Regions from separate parts of the Homo sapiens genome. Here region 2 is linked to region 1. The links are contacts of gene promoters, found by promoter capture Hi-C in human tissues and cell types (Jung and others, 2019). All regions are on one chromosome and are shown on one strand. The core of a region is centred on a gene start or on the middle of the fragment in contact, and the rest is flanking DNA. Distances in the headings are between cores, read along the strand shown. Region 1 holds the start of GPR61 (G protein-coupled receptor 61). Region 2 overlaps CYB561D1 (cytochrome b561 family member D1).

Region 1 (7,171 bases), core at 1,437-3,936:
TTCCTGATTTCTTGTCTCCTCAGAATGGCAAGAGCTGCTGGGGAGTAGAAGGAGCACAAAATTTAGTTTCTAGTCCCAGTTCTGGGCATTACTAACTCTGTGAATCTTCTGAATTTCAGTTTCCTCATAAATCCATCTGTAAAATGAAAGGAAGAACACTTGCTTCACAACTGTGTTTCTGGATCCTGCGTGATTTGTTAATAATAATACTAATGACAAGCAGTAGCATTGATACGGCGTTTTCCACATGCCAGACCCTGTTCTCAGCACTCTACCTATATTAACTCATTTTATTCCTCACACAACCCTATGAAGTAGATAATATTTTTATCTCCATTTTGCAAGAGATGAAGCTGAGGTCTAGAAAGGTTAAGTAACTTACCCAAGGTCGCACAGCTAGTAAGCGGCAAGGGCTGGGCACCTACCTGGGCAGTCTGGCCCCAGGTCCAGTACTCTTGCCCACTGTGCCATGCCATATGTGAAGGTGCCCTCCGTGCCGGCTGGACTATAATAGGCATCCAGTAAATAGTTGTTGAATTTCAGCTGTCTCTAAAACTGTCTCTTGCTGCCCTAGGGTTATCATCTGAAAAGGGGAGCTGTGCTTTAGGCTCTTTTGACATCACTACTCCCAGCACAAAGAGCTGCCACTTTGGGAATGTTGAGTAGGAGCAGTGAAAACAAAATGTCCCGTCTGGAAGGAAACTGGGAGGCCAGCTCATCCAGCCTCCACTGCTCCCAAAGCCGGAAGTTGCTTCAAGCTGCCCTTCTCCACCCACTCATGAACTCTTCAAGGCCACTGTGCCCCTCTTGTGGGAAAGGAGCTGCTGCCAACCTCCTGCTCCCCAGATCCCCAAATCTCTGATCTCTGGAGCTGACCCTTGGAGGATCCCTGACCAAGAGCCGCATTGGTTCTAGACTTACTACAGTCACAGAACAAGAAGTAGGGAGGAGACACTGAGGTTGCTCAGTTTAAAAACCCATCATTTCTATGGCTGCAATAAAGAGGATCACATGGCAAGATGGGCCCCACTCTCCTCCACAGTTATAGCCTTACAGTCACCTTTGGTTTTTGGTGTTTCCATAAACCTTACACCAATCCAACTTCTAACATGCTATGCATGCAATAGGTGCTGAATACAATTTTGTGAATTGAATCAAACTCAAATTGGTAGTTGAATCCCTGCCCCCTAGGACAAACTCCAAGAACACTCAGTCAGCCAGCTGTGTGCCAGCCAAGGGACTCTCTTGTGGAAAGGGTAGCCGGGGTTCCTGGACTTGAGGAAGCCCTAACTTTGGGCAACTGCCTAGAGACGTGCCTCTCTCTAGGGACACAGAAAGCTCATTTCACAGTTAAGATGCCCACAGAGACTTAGAGTCTGCAGAGAAGTTGAAGAGCGGGCACAAAAGTGAGACATCAGCTTCTCATTAGAGTCTACCAGGAAAAATGCCTGAAAGAAATGCTAGGAGAAGCATCCTTCCTTCTTACTCTCCATGCTCTGATTTACCTATCCCTTCTGTCTGTGAGTGAGGCCCAGAGGATGTGGTTCAGAGTCCCTCCCTGGTGGCTGAAGGAGGAGAGGCCCACCATGTCTGGATGGACATCAAGAGTCCCAGACGGAGGGAAGCAGACCTGGTTTCCACGTGGAGCTGGAGGGATGCCACGAAGCCATGATGGAGCCCTGAGCAAGAAGGCATTGGACATTGCTCTTTTTCATAGCTCCCTCAAGCTTGCCAGTGTCTCCACAGTGACTCCTAAATGCCAGGATTCCAATTTACCTCTTAACAGACAGATCAGTGTATCTGGCTAATGGGCACTCCCTCACTAATGGACTGGGGTTATGGAGGGGAGGGCTGTGGTGTAACAGTTTCATAGGTGAAACCCAGGGAGCCTCACTCCTCTCCCAGGTCATATCATTATGCCTACTCCCCCAACAGATGCTTTCCTTCCCCCACTACTTACTTCCAACAGCACCCCTCTTACCTCCAGGACCTTCAGTACCTAGAAGGCTTTGCCACTAGGGCCTGAGGTCTGGGCCTCTAGCAGGGGCATGGTCAAGTTACAGGATGCAAGATGTGCATAAGTGCCCAGCCCAAGGCCACAGAGGTATTGGGATTCACATGCACCTGTTTTCCAGATCCAGAGCTTCCATCCCAAAGACCTGAGCCTGGCCTTCCTTCAGACAAGAGCGTGCCCCTCCTAAGCTAGGGAAGATTTCCAGGGAGCTACAACACCTCTCCTCAGCAGAGTTGCCCACGCCCAGGACACAGTTGCCCATCAGCCTGTATGCTGAAGGGCCCATTCCTAGAATGTGGGAGACCCATGTCCATGACATGGAGCAAGACAGATGGAGAATGCTGTTTGTCTGCAGGATGTGGGTACTCCTGCCGGCAGGAGATGATCAACCCCCCAGCTCTGGGCTTCAGAGATGCCCACACCCCAATACCGCCTTTGGGATACCTGAGAGCCCATCTCCTGATCAAACTGCTCACCGGAATGTAGGCAGGGCTGGTCCTTGGAAAGCCACCCTTCTGTGGGGATACCTTGGCACTCACCACCAGGCTCTGGGTCTGGCCCCCATTCCTGGCCTAGTCGGCAACTCCTACCTTTGCTGAGCAGTCCCGGCTCCCATGTGATAGCTCCTCTCAGCTGATGCTTCTCCAAGGCTGCTGAAGCCTGAAGCACTGCAGTGAGCGGTGAGAGGCAGCCGGCAAAGCAGAGTGCTCCGAGAGCCTCTGGGTCCTAATGGCCTCCTGCTTCCCACCCAGCCCCTCAGAGTCACTTCTGGAGCAAAAAGGTGGGCACCAATGCCCCAGGCAAGGTGCCTGGCAGTGAGCTCAACTCCTCTCACTTCTCTCAGGCTGCTGGATTGCGTCTCAAAAATTTCGTGGGGCCAGGAAATGATAGGTAGGGGAGACCCTCTTGACCAGCCTGATGAAGTAAAAAAAAAAGTACATGGAGTCAGAAAATCCAGGTTTAAGGCCTGGCTATGGCACTTACTAGCCGTGTGACCTTGGGCAAGTTGCATTTTGGCCTTGATTTCTTAGCAGTTCAAAGAGAAGATAGGAGAGATGCATGGTTCTGTGTGACATCAGAACCAAGGTGCTGATGCAGGCAGGTCAGCGCAGACCCAGGGCCCCAAGGCTTAGGCCAGGGAGGCGGCTGAGGCTCCAGGGGATGGTCCAAGGTTTGGCCCCTTTGGAAGCTGCCTAATGCGTATGGGGGACAGGTTTAGGAGCAGCACTCAGGTTTGAAGGGCAGCTGAAGGCTTTGTCTTAACCCTGCCCTTGCCTCCCAAAAGCACATTATTATTATTTGCTTAGATTGTATGTTTATTGGAACTGGGGCTGTGAGGGCTGATGGAGATTGGCAGGGAGGGGGCGGGAGGATCTAACATCCCCCCGAGCCACCATGGGAACCACCACAACACTGCTTCCTGAAGGAGACAGAGTGGGGGCCAGGGACTCAGGAATGCTCACACTGATCTGGATTTGTGGGACTGGACAGAGCTAGGTAGCATCAGCCACTGAGCATCGCCCATCTGTGGCATGATGGGCCTTCAGAGACGCAATGAAGGGGCATGGCCTCCCTCTAGCTATGAAGAAAATGATCATTTACCCGGGTACATGACTGATACCCAAGGATAGAATCCTAACATTGCAAAGCTGTAGGACATCCTACAGGCCAAGGTATCCATGTTTCTGAGACCCAGAGAGATAAAGAGATTGCTCAAAGCCACATAGCTCCACATGGCAGAGCCATGAGTCTAAACAGGGAATTCAGGCATGATCCCCTACTCCAGAGCCTGCTTCCCTGAGACTTGCCTATCTAGGGACTCCTTCTGCCTCTAAGAAGGAAAAAGGGAATTCTGGAATTGTTTACCAGACCCAACCCAAAGAGCCATAAGAACAATGAGTTACCCAAGGACCTCACTGGGACAAGTTGGCTGCCCCAAGCCCCAGGTCAAAAACAAAGAGGCCACTGACAAACCAAGAGCCGATGCAGCAAGTGCCGCTGTCACCAGCCACCACTTTTTGAGCTGTTATGAGTGCCAGGCCCTTTACATACAGTTTCTTTGATCCCCACACCAATCTATGAGGCAGCCATGACTTGCCCTATTTTATAAGTGAGGAACCGGGTGCTGGAGGAGAAGTGACTTTCCCCAAATCACACAGCTAATAAGTGCAAGAGCTGATATTTGAACCCAGATCTGTTTGAAGTCCAAGTATTTCCTCCTCCTTCTCCCTTCGTTCCGTGGCCTCTCCAGTGGCCTGACACAAGACTGTGGACTACAGCCCTAAAAGCTATCTTCATAGAAGTAGTCACTGCCTTCCAGAAAGCCTAAAACAGACCTCAAAATTAGGCATACCTGCGTACAAGAAATTCAAATGGAAATACCAAATTGAAAACCTGTAGACAGCAAAGTGATTTTTAGGAAGCCCTGTGCTGTTGTGTTGGCAAGATTAATTTGGCATCAAGCAGATTGTCTGGGATTAGGTAAAGCCTGTCCCTGCTCAGCACCCACATTCTTCCTGCAGGGCCCCAGCCCAGACTGGCATGGCCCCTTCCGAGGGATTCAATAAGAACTGGAGCAGACCTGGGCCCACTGGAACAGGATTTTAGAAAGAGCGCTAGACTGGAGTCAGAAAACCTTGGTTCCAGTTTGGCGCCATTCTATTGGTTGGTGGTAAGACCTTGGCCTGTGAGTTGGCTGTCTGTGAAAATGGGCAAAATTCTTCACTTCCAAGCTTATCTAATAGTGGTAGGGAGCCTGCAAAACAAACATAGCCTGCCTCTCCAGCTTCAGGGAGCTAGCACAGGTAATCACAGCTCATGTGGTGGCCAGCAGGCAAGGCGTCCGTGTCCTGAAGCCCCTCCCAGAGAGCTATTGGGAAAGGCAGTACCAAAGAGGCAGCATGTTCCAGCTGTTGGAACCATCTTGGCTCAGGAGGTCGGCGGGGGAACTGCTTATTCTAGCCTGTGGGCAAATAATAAATAATAATAATAATCATGCTGGCTGGGCACAGTGGCTCACGCCTGTAATTCCAGCACTTTGGGAGGCTGAGGCGGGCAGATGATTTGAGATCAGGAGTTCAAGACCAGCCTGGCCAACATGGCGAAACCCCGTCTCTACTAAAAATACAAAAATTAGCTAGGCATGGTGACACATGCCTGTAATCCCAGCTACTCAGGAGGCTGAGGCAGGAGAATCGCTTGAACCCAGGAGGTGGAGGTTGCAGTGATCTGAGATCGCACCATTGCACTCCAGCCTGGGCAATAAGAGTGAGACTCTGTCTCAAAAAATAATAATAATAAATAATAATAATAATAATGCTACTAGTTCTTGAAGGCCCACTTTGGGAGGCACTTCTTATGCTGTATCTTATTAAATGATCTCAGTCAGGGTGTGGAGTAGCTACTGACAGCACACCCCCAACCCCACCTGCCAGTCCCTCCTTTTAGTAAAGCTTAGCACAATGGAGGGGGCAAGAAGACCAAGATGGAGAAACTGAGTGTGATCCCCCAAACCACATAAGAGATCCATGGCTCACTATGCTGTGCACACACCCAGGAAGGGAATCCTGTTACAGGACGGGGACCAGGCCCTGTTTCCAACAGTGGCACCCCTTCCCTTGGTATCATGGCAGGGCCCTTGCTGCTGAGGACTGATCTTTGCATCCTAGACTTGCTCCCTGGTACAGTTTTACCCAACCCTTGTGCACCAGCACCTCGTGACAGGGTCGTGTCTGCCCATCCACCCTTTTCTGCCCCAGGATGAGACCTGGAAGCCAATCAAGTTTATCTTTCATTCATCCATCCACTTCTTCAATAAACATTGAAGACTTCTTATGTTGCCACTGCCCCCTCCCTAGAGCCCCTTGCCTGCTCAGTGGCACCCACTACCCTCCTTCTCTGCCTTGTGTCAGAATCTGCTCTCAGGAAAGAGGTTGATAAACCCATTTGCACTGATAGCAACTTAATGTGTTCTTTCCCAGGAATATTAACAATTTAACAGGGAACAAAGAGAAGAAGCAGAACGTTGGGATTCCAGCATCGACCAGGGATGTCCCTGAGATCCCACAACATAGACTGCCTGTCAGCCGCCTACTCCCTAGCCAGGCCTCCCCCGCCAAGCTGCTGGCATTGTGTCCTCTTGGCATCCACCTCCATCCGCATGGGCACCCAACCCCCCCGCCCCTGCCAACCAGACAGCAGGCTTACAGCTGGGACCTCCACACCACAGCTCAGTTCCTGGCTTCCTGGGGCCCCCCTGTACCAGCACCAGCCATGCCTGCTTTCCAAGCACTCACCTCACCCTGCCCAGCATCTGGGAGCCAGGCCAAGGGGCTGAGGAGGGAGGCAGAGGAAAGCAGAGGTGAGAGCCCTTCCATTCTCTTTATTCCCCCACTGTCTGGCCTACACCCCCTGCCAGGAGCTGAGATCCAATGGTATATTCAGCCTGCAGCTGCCACTGGTCATGTGAGCCCATTGCTAGGTTACAGGGACCCAAAAATAAATCCTTCCCAACCAGATTAGAAACTGGGGGCCTCGGATGAACCAGGCTCAAAAGAGTGGCAGGAACACCCACAGTGCATGTTTAGGCCAGGCCTGCTATGGACCAGGGCCCTTCCCATGCTGCCCACCTCCTGTCCATCAGCAGGGGCTCAATGCTGGAACCCCACAGAAAAGTCCCAGAGAGCTCCTGGGTCTCCTATTTATTAATAACACAATAAATAGGTCTACAGGTTGAGTGGCCCTTCCTCACTAGCAATCAGGGTAATATCCTCTGCATGTTCTTCCCATCCAACCTTCCCATCATCAGCCTGTCCCTCCACAGGCCCTGCCCTACACCCAGTGCATGGGCAAAGCGAATTAGTCATTTGCCCTGTGGCCTGGGGGCCATCTGCCCTAACAGTCCTTTTCCAGACTCGGGAAGGGAGCTCTGGCAGTAGGCACAGCACTAGGCGTATTCGTGTGAGTAGTCTTACACAATCTTCTCTGTTAGTCTCAATGATTCCATTTACAGATATGGACACTGGGGCTTAGAGAGGTTAAGTGACTTTTGCAGAGCCACACAGTTGAGCAACTGGGGTTCAAACCCCAGATCTATACTATGGGGATGAGGCAAGGAAGAAGACAGGGAAGCACAGTTATGGAAAGGGGAGTTCCCCA
Region 2 (7,171 bases), core at 1,583-4,082, 39 kb after region 1:
TCTCTGTTCTGGCACAATCTGACTGGTTTATTTTTTCAGCCTGTGGGTGGGGTTCACTGTACCTCAGAAGGGTGTGTCCTATCTAGGAAGAAAATCTTTAAGTGCTATTGTACGGACATGGGTGAAATACACATCTAGGCATTAAGATGGACCGGGGTCAGCAAACATTTTCCCTAACGAGCCAGATAGTAAATATTTTAGGCTCTGCAGACCACACAGTCTCTGTTACAACTCAGCTGTGCTGCTATAGCTTGAGTGTAGCCACAGACAGGACAAAAATGAATGACTGTGGCTGTGGTCCAAAAAAGATTTGACTTATGGACATTGAAATTTGAATTTCATATTTTAACATGCCTTTTGAGTTTTTCCAAGCATTAAAAAATATATAAACTAGGCCGGGCGCGGTGGCTCACGCCTGTAATCCCAGCACTTTGGGAGGCCGAGACAGGTGGATCACAAGGTCAGGAGATCGAGACCATCTTGGCTAACACGGTGAAACCCCGTCTCCACTAAAAATACAAAAAATTAGCCGGGTGTGGTGGTGGGCGCCTGTAGTCCCAGCTACGCAGGAGGCTGAGGCAGGAGAATGGGGTGAACCCGGGAGGTGGAGCTTGCAGTTAGCCAAGATAGCGCCACTGCACTCCAGCCTGGGCAACAGAGCAAGACTCCATCTCAAAAAAAAAAAATGTTATATATATATATATATATATATATAAACTACTATTAGCTCACAGGCCACATAAAACCAGGCAGTGGGCTGGTTTGACCAACAGACCATACTTTGCTGACCCCTAAGATTCTCAAATGTCACTGAAGCTTTAGAGTTTAGAAATCCCATGACTTGGCGCTCGCTGAGGCTTGTAGATAATGAAGTCTTCCTGGATCCCTAGGGCAGAGGGTTGCCTCCCTGCCGAGTTCTCTTAAAAGTCTGGATCAAGCCTACTGACCATACCATGGAAAAAATGCTTGGATTGGGTTTTAAAAAATGGTGGGCAGCAGCTCACTTTCACAGAATTTTATTATCAGTATTTTCATGTTGTAAATGGTAGCCATCTTAGGCTAAAAGTATATTCACCTAATGGGCAGGTTAATCTTCCTTGACAGTTTAGTGTGTCCTAGGCATTGCGTGGAACAGAAAAATGCAGTCCCTACGTTTTGGTACAGATTCAGCCTACCAGAAATTGGACTGGACTCTAAAACTCTAACCATGCTGATTCTTTGGCTCCTCTCTTGGTGATTCTAGAAGGGGGCTGTCGTGGCAGATTCCAAAGAGGGAGAGGAAATGATACCAGGAAAAAAATTAAAAGAATGCGAATTTGAATACTTACCTAAAGTCTTGACCGAAGGGCAGCCCTCCTCTATTTGGAAAGTTGTTTTTCACTTCAGGAGGAACAACCAAGGTGACGAGGGGTGGAGCTACTGCACAACCAGCCACATCAGACAAGTCAACCTTGGCAGTCAGTGAAATGACAGCTGTTGATGTCAGAGCACTCCCATACTCTGCATTTATATAGTTTTTCATCTGCAAAGCAGTTTTTCTATGGCTGACAATTTGGCTGACAGGATGAAGCTGATAAGGAGAGCAAGTCTGATGAGGACTACTTGGAGTTTGGAGTTCTCTCTTCTGTTTTGGCCTGTGCCAAGCCCAAGGAAGTCCATGGCTGCATCTCTTCAACACCCCCCACCCACCCACCACCCACATCCTCACCACCTCCCCCAAACCACAAGAAGTTCCTTAGATTCTGGCCAAGATGTGCAATTTTGTCTGCCATGCCTTGCAGCACTTACCCTGGCTCCTCTTAGGTAGCACTTGCGGGGAGGGAGGAGGCTAATATGACAGTTTTCTTTGAGAATAGGTAAGAGTTCAGTGCATTGGTTAACCTGGCCTCTCTTCCCCCCAGTCTCTCAACTCCTTCCCTTTCTGCATGCACTTCTTGCACCACTTATCTTGTATCTCCCAGGAAACCAGTGGGGAAGCTTCACTTTCTCCACCCACATAGCAGAAAAGGCTCAGGCCCCTGCAGTGGGACGGTTGGCTTTTCTGGTCTAGTCACAGTCAGCCTGTGCTGAATGCTTCCTCTCCTGGGGCTTGAGAGAGGAAGGCTAAAGCAGCTGCCAGTCAAGCCCCTTCATCAGGCTTCTACACTCTTAGGTGGAAAATGCAAAATGGTGAAGACACTTAGACCTGCCCTGACGCCTCCAATCTAGTCAGCTTGTTTACTCTCCCTGGTTGGAACCATGGCCTGAGAGAACCAACCTGCAGTGAGCCAGGACGTGGAGCCCTGCAGTGGGACTTCTGGATGCCCTTTGGCACTGGCATACATTAGGCAGGAGTCATTGCCTCCAAGGCTGGTGTATGCGTGCATGTGCGCACACATACAGGTTGGCAAGTACTGGAGTTGGATTGTACTTTGTGCTGCATTTCCCTTACCTCCCACTGCTCCCTCACTTGGTCATAGTTTGCTTTTGGGGGGCCTGAGCAGAACTGAGCATCCTTAGAAAGCACCATGAGATAACTGGGTATCTGCTTTAAAGATAGGGGTGCTAGGGGGCCACTCATGTATACTCAGTGAGACAGAGTTGGCTCCTCAGATGCCACTGAATAGCCTGAAGTCGTTCCTTAATCTGCTTCCAACAGAGGTTAAAAACTCATCTGGGAAATCCTAGCAATAGCAGGATTATAAACTGAGATTGTTATTCTGTGATGCATCTGGTGACTAGCTGAGTCTCCTGAGTGGGTGGGTAGGGGGAAGGTCCCCTCACTGGAGGTAATTTCTGCCTACATGAAGGGGTTAAGCCCAGCGCCATGCTGGAGACGGGCTACTTCAAACCACCCTCCAGGGCAGTTCTGCCTTTCAGCTTGTCGTCTTTGTGCAGTGCTGGTGAGAACTGCTGAGGCTCTGCACACAATGCCTGACTAGTGTTTCATTCCTGGATCCCAGGACAGAAAAAGCAATTAAGATAAAAAACGAATATTCAAGCCTCTGCACTGCTGTTTTGCTGTTCCTGCTTCTTTGCATCCACTCCAGGCAGACTGCTGCTGCTCTCAGACAAATGGAATGGAAAGTATTCTTCCCCAATTTAAAACTTAAACAGAACTGCTTTCAGTGTGTGTGTGTGCGTGTGTGTGTGTGTGTATGTGAATGCCAATAAAGCACTTGGAGGAGGAGGGGACTGATCCTATTCCACGAGCCTGAAATGGGGAAAGGGAAACCAGGCTGTGGACCCTGGGAAGCCAGGGGTCCCTGCTCTGCATCTCCAATGCCTGAGGCAGGTGTTGCTCATTCTGTGGCTTCGGTAAACAGAGGGTCTGTGGCGATGCTGTTTGCTCCAGTTGCTCCTCCCTTCCTAGCTTGTCTGCTCCACTTTTCCCTCAGAAGGGCAGAATTAGGAGAGATTTAGATAGACTTGTGACCTGCAGCTCCCTACGAAGACCAGCTCCAGGAACTTCAGGCTGGACCTAGGGAGGAATTGTACTGACTCCGAGATCTGCAGTCTGCCCTGTGATTTGGGAACACCAGGTAGGCAGCACTTACGGCAAACTTCACTAGTCATGGCCGTGGTGGCATTTCTGGCAGGAGTTGGTAAGAGCTGACCTTGCATCTGGAAGGAAGAAATGTGTCCATGTTTTCTTATGATGGCCAGAACAACTCTCTGAGACTTAGATCCCCTGTCATTATCCATAACTGTTTATTGCCTAAGAAGCATAAAGCCCAAAGCCTGGCTCAGTGAAAGAGAAGGACAAGAACATAATAATACCACCTGTTTACATGTGTTTAATGCTTTGAATTTTCCAATTCCTATTAACATTCATTCTCTCATCAAACCCTCACAACATCCCTGTGAGGTAGGTCAGGCAATAAGTGGTTTGCCCACAGCCACACCAGTGATAGGGACGGAGTAAACCCATACTGCAGGTTTCCCAGCCCCCAAGCTGATGCACCTTTCATTTCATGTTACACAGGATCTTTGTGCCAACCAGACACAGGAGCATCAAGAGCACTACCAGAAGCCTCCCTGCTCTCTGAGCTTGCAGAGGGGACCCAGAAATGCTGGGCTTGAGGCATCAAGACCAGGGGTGCCCCCTGTAGGCCAAGCCAGGTAAACAGAAGGAAGGGCAGGAGTACTGGAAGTTCAGGCTCAACAGCCACCCCTGCCACCACCATAGGTCTCAGCCTAGCATACACTGTGTTCCCTACATATCTTGACCTTTGTCAGGTGCAAGTCTTATTAGTTTACTGAGAGGACTCAGTGCCCACTCCCAGACGAGAAGTCACTGCAAGGCGTGGCTAGCAGCAAGATTCCTGACTTCCTTCCCACAGTGCCTTCCCATTCTGTTACACTCTGCAGCCCAGGAAGGAGGGGGAAGGTGAGGGCTGACTGACTCAGCCTGCAAGTGCTTAGAGATCTGAAGCTGAAAGGCCCCAGCACCATTCAGCTAATGATTATTATTAACTCTGAACAGGCTTTAGCACAGCGGCCAGCTGGCTTAGGGAGGATGCCTGAATCTCCCACAGTGAGGTTTTCAAAACAAGACCTGGCTAGGCACGGTGGCTCACGCCTGTAATCACAGCACTTTGGGAGGCCGAGGCGGGCAGATCACGAGGTCAAGAGATCCTGGCCAACATGGTGAAACCCCATCTCTACTAAAAATACAAAAATTAGCTGGATATGGTGGCACGTGCCTGTAGTCCCAGCTACTCGGGAGGCTGAGGCAGGAGAATCGCTTGAACCTGGGAGGCAGAGGTTGCAGTGAGCCAAGATTCTGCCACTGCACTCCAGCCTGGCGGCAGAGTGAGACTCCGTCTTAAAAAAAACAAAAACCAAAAAAACCAGACCTACAGCAGCCATGCACGGGGGTGGAAGGGTGGGACGATGAGAAAGAAGGGATGGGCCAGTGAGTGCGGAAGGGCAGCCTGCCTTGTGAAAGGGTGGGGAGAGAGGAGGCCCAGGCTGGCAAGTGGTAACAGCCTACCACTTAAGAGCCAAGAAGGTGAGGCTGGAGGACTTCCCCAGATACAGAGCTGCTCCCATTCCATACCAACCCCAGCCATGATGGGGCTCAGAGGAGGGGTGGTTACAGAAAAGACGGGGGCTTGGGAGGGGTATCTGAACCCAGAAGGGTAATCTCATTTCCATTCAGATTTGGATACAGAAGCCATCTATATTTCTAATGTCCTCAAGGTTGAATCTGAATATAATCAAATTTGGAATATAATCAAATTTGGAATATAATCAAATTTGGAATCAGGACTTAGCTTGATATGAAAATTTGTGCAAATGACACGCAAATTTTTAAAATCTAAGCACCCTGCCCTGGCTTTTTTTTTTTTTTTAAAAAAAGGCAAAACAGGCTGACCACTAGCAGCTTTCCCTAGCCAGGGAGCAAGGACAAAAGGGCAACCATGTGCTTCTCCTCCAAGGCGTTTGCTTCCTTGCTGAGGAGCCAAGTGAATACCCCAGACATGAGCAGAATAAGGGAGGTGCGGGGAACAGAGGATGGCGGAGGAGGGAACACACAAGCAGGAGCCCATGCAGCTGGGAGCCACTGAGATCCCAGCTGGAGGAAGAGTGCCCTGGCACTGAGGTCTAATGGCTGTCCAGCTGCTGCCCCAGGATGTGAGGGCAGGTGGTGATGGAGGGAGAAATGGAAAAGAGGGGGAGGGAAGTCCCTCCACAATCCGGCCTGCCAGGATGAAGGGCTCCTCCTGGTGACCTATTCCCTACACTGCAGTCAGACCAGGCTAAGCAGGAGACCACCAGTGCCCTCCTCTCTGCTCTGTGCCCCTGCCCTCCAGGCCTGCTGGTCAGAAAGGCGACAGCTGGGGCCCCTTCCTCCTGCAGAATATAAATGACTCCCCCTTCCTCCCAGGGCTGGGAATAGACATCAGATGGCACAGCCCACGCAAACTGCCGGCTGTCAGCACGCCTGCCCGCCCGCCCACCAGCCCCCGCACCACCTGGGAGGAGGCAGCACCTCAGGCAGGCTCAGGCTTTACGGCATTGCCTGCTTGCTCTTAGAGCAAGCTGGTGAACTTTGCCTGGCCCTCCTACCCTGCGGCAGGTAGAAGGAGCCTCTCAGCACTGGCTGTGATGAGGAAAGAGGAGATGCAGTCCCTGGATCAAAATCACCGCAGGTGAAATTCTCCATGCAGCCCCAGTAACCGTTTCTTCTGAGTTCACACCACACTGGAGAGTTTGAGAGGAGGGAGGACAATGAAAGAGACAGGAACAATACCCCTCTGCACAGCAGGGGCCTCCTTTAGATGCTTGTCCTGGAGATGCAATCTCCCCCAGGAGGGGCATAATGAGTTACGTGGAGAGGACACTTCTGCCCTTGCTGTCCCCATTCTGTCCCCATACTATTGAATCAAACCAACCTCCTTACTTCTAAGCTACCCGGAGAGGAGGACCTGAATCTTCAGAAGACCAAGGACATCCACAACACTAACATCTAGGAACACCTGCCCCTGCTCCTGGGAACTGGAGCTCCAGCGCCTACATCCCAGGCTTCCCAGAGTTCCCTGTGAGCTATGTCGACTTGCCTCAGCAGCACTTTCCTGGCTCAGCTGTTGTCAGGCCTTGCCATGATCTAGGGAGATCCTATCTTCTCAACTGAGCCCAGACCACAGCTCAGCAGTCTAGCATCCAGTCCTCACCACCGAGGGCAGCCTGGGGAACTACTTTCAGCTGCAGCAAGGAGCGGGGTGGTCTCTGGAGGGAAGAGAGTCCAGCCCTCATTTGCCAGCTGGCACCAAACTCAGCCCCCTCTTGGACCAAAGAGCTGGGAAGAGATGACAACTGAGGAAAGCTTAGATAACAAGGGAAGAGGGGTAACCAGAGAAACTTTGTTTTCTTTGGATCAGAAAAGCCCTGCCCCACTTCCTTGGCCCTTATGAAATGCTTCAAAAAAGCTCCCAGAAGCTATGTGCTAAGGCAAGAACCTGAGCCCTAAGAAGGGCAAAGCATGAGATGCCTGGGGCTCCTTTGCCCTGAGAAGTGATTTCGGGGGAGGGAGCGCACGCAGGCCCTGCAGCCCTCAAGCCCGGATCCTGAGGTGGGCTGAAGGAAGATCTTAGCTGGGCTAGGCAGCCCAGCCAGCAGCCTTCGGCTTGGTTAAGCCAATGCCCTCCTGCTTCTCCAAAAGCTTTAAAGTGACTTTAGTGCCTTT

Evidence for each region. Contacts are between HindIII fragments. The study calls those that stand out against the background at their distance.
Region 2: a contact is called between a fragment that was not itself captured here and the fragment with the promoter of GPR61 in region 1, in 15 of the 25 tissues and cell types used here (H1 embryonic stem cells, IMR-90 fibroblasts, adrenal gland and 12 more).

Annotation. Positions count from the first base shown.
Region 1 is chr1:109,535,387-109,542,557 of GRCh38, reverse strand. GPR61 (G protein-coupled receptor 61) reads right to left here and starts at 2,686. Exons shown (of 2, transcript NM_001393907.1): 1 at 2,605-2,686; 2 at 1-136. RefSeq lists enhancers at 2,172-2,671, 2,672-3,173. The HindIII fragment of the contact is 6,013 bases long and covers 1-5,106 here.
Region 2 is chr1:109,497,021-109,504,191 of GRCh38, reverse strand. CYB561D1 (cytochrome b561 family member D1) reads right to left here. Exons shown (of 3, transcript NM_182580.3): 3 at 3,757-7,171. It overlaps AMIGO1 (adhesion molecule with Ig like domain 1), which reads left to right. Exons shown (of 2, transcript NM_020703.4): 2 at 1-14. Among named protein-coding and RNA genes, the nearest start is that of CYB561D1, 6.5 kb to the right of the region's middle. RefSeq lists an enhancer at 4,204-4,703 and a silencer at 5,551-5,845. The HindIII fragment of the contact is 8,294 bases long and covers 1-6,979 here.